2 separate regions of the Homo sapiens genome follow, and region 1 is linked to region 2. The links are contacts of gene promoters, found by promoter capture Hi-C in blood cells and fetal thymus (Javierre and others, 2016). All regions are on one chromosome and are shown on one strand. Each heading gives the region's core, a stretch centred on a gene start or on the middle of the fragment in contact. The rest is flanking DNA. Distances are from core to core; before and after follow the strand shown. Region 1 overlaps NAV1 (neuron navigator 1). Region 2 holds the start of PHLDA3 (pleckstrin homology like domain family A member 3).

The links. The method cuts DNA at HindIII sites, captures the fragments that hold promoters and counts their contacts. A CHiCAGO score of 5 or more calls a contact.
Region 1: a fragment that was not itself captured here is called in contact with the fragment with the promoter of PHLDA3 in region 2 in 2 of 17 cell types (M1 macrophages and monocytes); the score reaches 6.7 in M1 macrophages.

Annotation. Positions count from the first base shown.
Region 1 is chr1:201,791,584-201,794,526 of GRCh38, reverse strand. It overlaps NAV1 (neuron navigator 1), which reads right to left. Exons shown (of 34, transcript NM_001389617.1): 18 at 652-735; 19 at 1-61. The region is part of intron 2 of IPO9-AS1 (IPO9 antisense RNA 1); the gene reads left to right. Among named protein-coding and RNA genes, the nearest start is that of MIR1231, 16 kb to the left of the region's middle. The HindIII fragment of the contact is 4,337 bases long and covers 1-2,943 here.
Region 2 is chr1:201,467,420-201,470,677 of GRCh38, reverse strand. PHLDA3 (pleckstrin homology like domain family A member 3) reads left to right here and starts at 1,490. Exons shown (of 2, transcript NM_012396.5): 1 at 1,490-2,337. The coding sequence starts at 1,892. The coding sequence ends at 2,275. RefSeq lists silencers at 1,221-1,450, 1,661-1,970 and enhancers at 1,471-1,590, 1,105-1,819, 2,041-2,180, 2,251-2,310. The HindIII fragment of the contact is 14,509 bases long and covers 1-3,258 here.

The sequences.
Region 1 (2,943 bases), core at 411-2,910, 320 kb before region 2:
CCTCAGAGTTCTTTTTCTTCAGAAAGTCTATGGTTTCTCGCAAATCCAGCAGCTCAGTGTCCTAAGAGAGAAATGAAAATAGCGTTGGCTGGGCACGGTGGCTCACACCTATAATCCCAGCACTTTGGGAGGCCGAGGTGGGCGGATCACCTGAGGTCAGGAGTTCAAGACCAGCCTGGCCACCTGGTCTCCATTAAAAATACAAAAATTAGCTGGGCGTGGTGGCGGGCACCTGTAATCCCAGCTACTTGGGAGGCTGAAGCAGGAGAATCGCTTGAACCTGGGAGGCAGAGTTTGCAGTTAGCCAAGATCGCGCCAGTGCACTCCAGCCTGGGTGACAAGAACGAAACTCCATCTCAAAAAAAGAAAACAGCGTCATTAGTTGGGATTAGCAGGAGCCCTGAGCCCTTATGATGTGTCAGGCAATGGGCGAGGCATTGGAATTCTGCAAAACTTGATAGAGAAGGGCAAGGAATTGGGATAAGGAATATGCTCACACTGTATTGGGGGGCAGATTGAGAATCCAGGGTGACAGTGAGGTGGGGAGAAACTGGCATTCATGAGCAAGAACAGATGGTCAGCTTCGGCCTCTCTGTCCAGGAGAACCCCCTCGCCGCACCCACCCCTCCCACCCTTTCCCAGGCCTCTCACCTTCTCCTCGGCCGTCTCTGCCAGGTGTCGCAGGCGGGATGTCATATTCACCAGGCTCTGCTCAAAAGCAGCCACCAGATTAGCCTGAAACAAACACAGAAAGAGATTGCTAAGTTGCATAAGGCTGGGGGAAAGGCAATAACTGACAATGGGAAATAGTTTTAACTGATTTCCTGTATCTCGGAGCTGACCAATGCCAGCAAACCTCTTGGTGGTTAAAAAAATATTGATTTTCCTGAGCAGACAAAGGGGAAATCAAAGAAATTTTCTGGTGGGAACCAGCTTCTTGAATAATGAAGCCAGGTTGAGGGTAGGGCAGGTTTCCAGAGGCTCCTGGAGACTTGAGATCTAAAACCTATCAACTACCAGAGGTAGGACTATCCCTCTGCTCTATGTGATATTTGGTGTGGCCAACTTGGTAGGCGGGCCATAGCCTCTGGGGTCGTTCCTATTATTTTGGTTTAACTCCTGCATTGTGGAGTGGGCCGGCCCCCAAGGGACCAAATAATCTCCTGGCAGAAACTATTTGGTGCGTTTCTTCCTCCTCTGCTACTCCACTGCTTCACCCTTTCTTGCTTTGCAGCTGCTCCTTGTTCCCGGATTCTCCAGGTTTGCAAGGCTGGAAGGAAACTGCAGAGGCATTCCACCGTTTGGCCACTAGGTGTCAGGTCTGTTTCATGAGGAGTGAAGGATACCAAAGGGCTCTCTGGATAAGAGGCAGGCTAGTTCGGAAAGGTGCTCAGTGGAGGAGCTAAGGCCACTTGGTTTGGCATAGTTTGACCTCTAGCTGGCCAACTGGCTGCAAGATGTATAGGCAAGGTAAAGGGAATGAGGCCGGGGGCTAGAAAGGGGAGCACTTGGGGATGGAGAAATAGCCATCGTGAGACTATCTGAGCAAGTTGGTGACCCTAGCAAGAAGTGGGCATACTCTGCGCAGCTCCTTCATGCAGAGCTCTAGGAAATCGACGGCACTCTCATGGCTCCTACTGGCTTACAATTCTCCCTCCCTGTTGGGTCAACTCTAGTTTTCATCCACTGCTCCGCATGTCTGGAGCCTACTTCATAGGACCAGGGCTGGAGGCAATCCCTTTAGTCCAGTTAGAGCCTCCTCTTGCACTTTTACTATAAATCTGTCAAGGCCTGGGCTCTGAGGAGATTATAATATGTCACAACCTGAGCAGTTTCCTTTCACCCACTGTGCAGGCAACATCTGTCTTCTTGACCTCAGGTCTTCTCTGGTTTGCTTCTCTACATCCTGCATGTCTGCTTGTAGACTCCTTGTAGTCCCTGGAAGACTACTCATGAGAGGCCCCAAGAACCCCTGTATGCTCTTCTGTGCTGCCTTTCCCCATCCAGGGGAACCCTTTTGCTCTGGCTGGGCTTTCTCCCCGCTCTCCCCTACACTTCCTCTCCCTACATTGACCCTTCCCTTAATCCCAACCCCAGACTAGGGTACCTGTAAGACCTCAGGGCTAAGCAGTGGTGCTGCAGAAAGGCTAGCATTTGAGAGGGGTAAAGTGGTCTGGGCCCCTACATCTAGGGTGTGCCCTCAGCTTTAGTGGCTAGGAAGTTCCATGGAACATGACAAAAGTTTGGTTTGGAGTCACGGAATCCTGAAGAGAGCTGTGGAACCTTCCTAGAGTCCCAGCATCCCATCTCCTGCTTGAGGGCAGGGTTCTGACCCTCGGCAAAAATCTGCCTTTAAGATGCAGAACCCACCGTGTCTGGGTGTTTAGTTTGTTCTCTCTTAGCCAAATGGAACTTCCTGTTCTAAGAAAAATCACCCTCTAAATTCAATTTCTTGGCTTCAGCCCAGCCTTGACAGCATGGTGGCTGACAGATTGCAGTGTAAATGAATCAGACATAATAATGTTCTCTGCCTCCCTGGCGCCTCTCCCCCCCAGCATCTCCCAGACATGAATTTCCTGGGGTGTGCAGGACGTGACCCAGGCCATTTGCTTTGGTGGGTGTGGCACAAGGGAGAGAAAAGATGGTTCTTGTTTATGTTACAATTCTTATGGGTCCCCCAAGAGTGGGAAAAAGTGCTTAACATGAGCTTCAAACAAACTGGTACAACTTATGAATTGAGGGTTTGGGAAAAGAGAATCGAGAGAATAACTAGTGTGGTGAGGGAACTGCTGCTGAAATGTGTTGGAAACATTCAGAATCTTGGTGGAGATTCTTCTACCTAATTCCGACGGATAGACCCCAGGCCTGACAGCTGGGTTCCCCAGAGAGGAAGGGCAGAGAGAAAACCAGAAACTACTGCGGAAATTGCAGACATGGTTACTT
Region 2 (3,258 bases), core at 241-2,740:
GTGTGTGTGTGTGTGTGTGTGTGTGTGTATAAAGAGTTATGGATGAGACACTGACAGTTCCCTTCTCTCATCTCCTAACTTTGGGACTGCAGAGGAGCGCACTCCTATCCCCACAACAGGACCTTCCCTGTATCTGTTAGGCTCTGCTCTTTGGGCAGGAGGATGGCAACACAGGGTGTAAGTACAAAGAGGTCTTATTACTGTCATTATTATATATCATTACTCCCGTAAGAATCTATTATTAACATGTTGATGAATAGACCTTTAAGAAACTGTGGGCCTGGAGGAACTGATCAAGATGGGGACAGAATGAGGACCTAAGAGAGCCCTCTTCCAGTGCCTGGCTTAATCTCAGGGCCCCCATCATTCTCTAAAGGGAATAAGAGTGGGGAGAGGGGAGGAAGAACATTTCTTGAGACTCAAGAGTTGTCAGGTCCTGTCTTGGGTCTTTCACAAATGTTATCCAACTTATTCATCAGGACAACCCCATGAGATGAGAATAAATTAATCCTCCTATTCGACAGATGAGGAAATTGACGGAGGTCAGTAAAGTTGCCCCAGGTGGGCAGGACACAGCCAACAAGGGAGAAGAGGTTTGAACTCAACTCTGCAAAGCTCTTGTGTTTACACAATATTCTAGCCAGAACAGAAAGAGACCTCTCCCTCTGCGTTCCCCTCCAGCTCTGTATGCGGGAGAAGTCCATTCTTGGGGAAGGCCGAGGGAGGACAGAATCTGCGGAGCGGAAGGAGCAAGGTTGGAGCTGCGCTTACACCTGGGACTGGCTGTGCCATCGGTCCAGCGTCGGCGCCTGCAAGTGTGCGGTGGAGAGGACTGCAGACAGTGGCATCCCCAGGTCACGGAGGGGGTCCCTCCTCCCCCACTACGAGGAGGGCATGAATGACCTCAAGCCTCAGCTCTCCTTTGTTGGCACTGGCTACTCTCTACAGGCCTCCCCGCGCAATGCATGGGGGTAGGAGTAGGAGCAGGTGAACTGTCCAAGCAGAGGCAGCGATGGACAGCCTCTCTTGGGTGCTGCACAGAGAAATCGGGCGATGGAGGAGGAACCCAACATGGGCTTGATGCAGAGGCTGGGGGCCCCATGGCGTGCCAAGTAACCAGCAGCTGTCTGACGCCTAACATGCAACTGGTGCCACTGCGCGTTCGCCAAGCAAGCCCACCCCCTTGCTAGCAGCGCGCTCTCCAATCGAGGAGATGCGCCTTCCCCCTCCCTTCCCCGCCATCTCCCCCTTCATTCAAGGCCTGGGGGAGCTGCGGTTCCGAGAAGCGGCAGACGGCAGCCAGAAGGCTTGGGCTGTTGAGTAAGCAGCCCCCTCTCAGTCCCGGCCCTCCCCGCCCCGCGCCCTGCGCCTCCAGTGAGTGACTGAGCCCCCGCTGCGGCCCCGCCCCCGGGGCCCTGCCGGAGCTGGTGCGCGGCGCGGAGGGGAGGGCCGGCCAGGGTAGGAATGCGCTGCGGGCGGGCGGCGCAGGAGGCGAGCGGCGGAACATGTAAGGGCACATCCCGCGAGCTGCCGCCCAGCGCGCAGACAGAGCCCAGGGGAGCAAGAGAACGGGCGGGCGGTGGGGCTCACGGCCTAGGGAGGCGCGGAGGCATCTGGCAGAGGCGGGTCGGGCTGGGCCAGCTGGGGTAGAGCGGAGGAGCGGGTGCCGGCTGAAGCGGGGCGGTGGGCGCGGAGCGCGCTGGGGGCACCGACACCACCTCACCGGCAGCCGGGTGCTGAGGGCCGCGGTGTGGGTGCGCGGAGCAGTCAGGGCGCAGGTGGGCAGCGCGCACGGCCTGCCAGCCCGGGGCGCCAGAATCCTGCGCTGCGGGGCCGAGAGGGGCGCCGCGCCCGCCGCAGCCTGGAGCTTTCCGCGAACCTCGGGGCGCCCATGACGGCGGCGGCGACGGCTACCGTGCTCAAGGAGGGCGTGCTGGAGAAGCGCAGCGGCGGGCTGCTGCAGCTGTGGAAGCGGAAGCGCTGCGTCCTCACCGAACGCGGGCTGCAGCTCTTCGAGGCCAAGGGCACGGGCGGCCGGCCCAAGGAGCTCAGCTTCGCCCGCATCAAGGCCGTGGAGTGCGTGGAGAGCACCGGGCGCCACATCTACTTCACGCTGGTGACCGAAGGGGGCGGCGAGATCGACTTCCGCTGCCCCCTGGAAGATCCCGGCTGGAACGCCCAGATCACCCTAGGCCTGGTCAAGTTCAAGAACCAGCAGGCCATCCAGACAGTGCGGGCCCGGCAGAGCCTCGGGACCGGGACCCTCGTGTCCTAAACCACCGGGCGCACCATCTTTCCTTCATGCTACCCACCACCTCAGTGCTGAGGTCAAGGCAGGTAAGCCCCCGGGGGACTGGGCCCTCTTCTCTCCTTCCCTCCCTTCTCTTTCCCCTACAGAGAGAATGAGGACTAGCATTCTACTTCAGAGCCGGACATCTTAGGGGGGAGGTTCCTGGGGCCAACTGAGGGCATGGGAGGCTTGGGCCAGTGGCCAACCCAGCAGATCCGGACTTTCCCCTGAGGCACCAGGTTGGCCGGTCCAGAATGTGATCCAGGTGTGTGAGAGGAAGATGGAAGCCCTGGGAGGGGGATACCTGGGTGAGATGAGCCTTCTTTCAAGTTGGTTCAGCCCTGACTCAGGTGGAAGGAAGTAGAGGGAGGTTGGCCTGCACATTGCCCCAGGCTGTGGGCCTCTGCTTTCCACGCAGAGCAGGGCTCCTGGACTTCGGCTTTCTGGCAGCTGAGGACAACCGAGGGTGGGGACGCGGATCGTGGAGGCCGACCCTCTTTCCCTCTAGGTTGAATGCTTGTCATAAAGTTTGAGCATTGAATTGATGTAGAAAGACAGTATCTCCCAGATGGCGAAGGCACCATCAAGGGTTGCAAATAGAGCCAAGGAGTCCGGCTCCCAAGGTGGGGCCTCAGTGGAAGGTGGGGCCTCAGTGGGCCGCCTTGGCTGGACTGGGCCTGAGGGATCCAGCTCCTCCTCTACATATGTGTGTGTGTGTGTGTGTGTGTGTGTGTGTGTGTGTGTGTGTATGGTTTGTTGTTGTTGTTGTTGTTGTTTGAGACAGAGTCTCGCTGTGTCACCCAGGCTGGAGTACAGTCGTGTGATCTTGGCTCATTGCAACCTCTACCTCCTGGGCTCAAGCAAATCTCCTGCTTCAGCTTCCAGAACAGCTGGGATTACAGGTGCCTGCCACCACACCCTGCTAATTTTTGTATTTTTAGTAGAGATGGGGTTTCGCCATGTTGGCC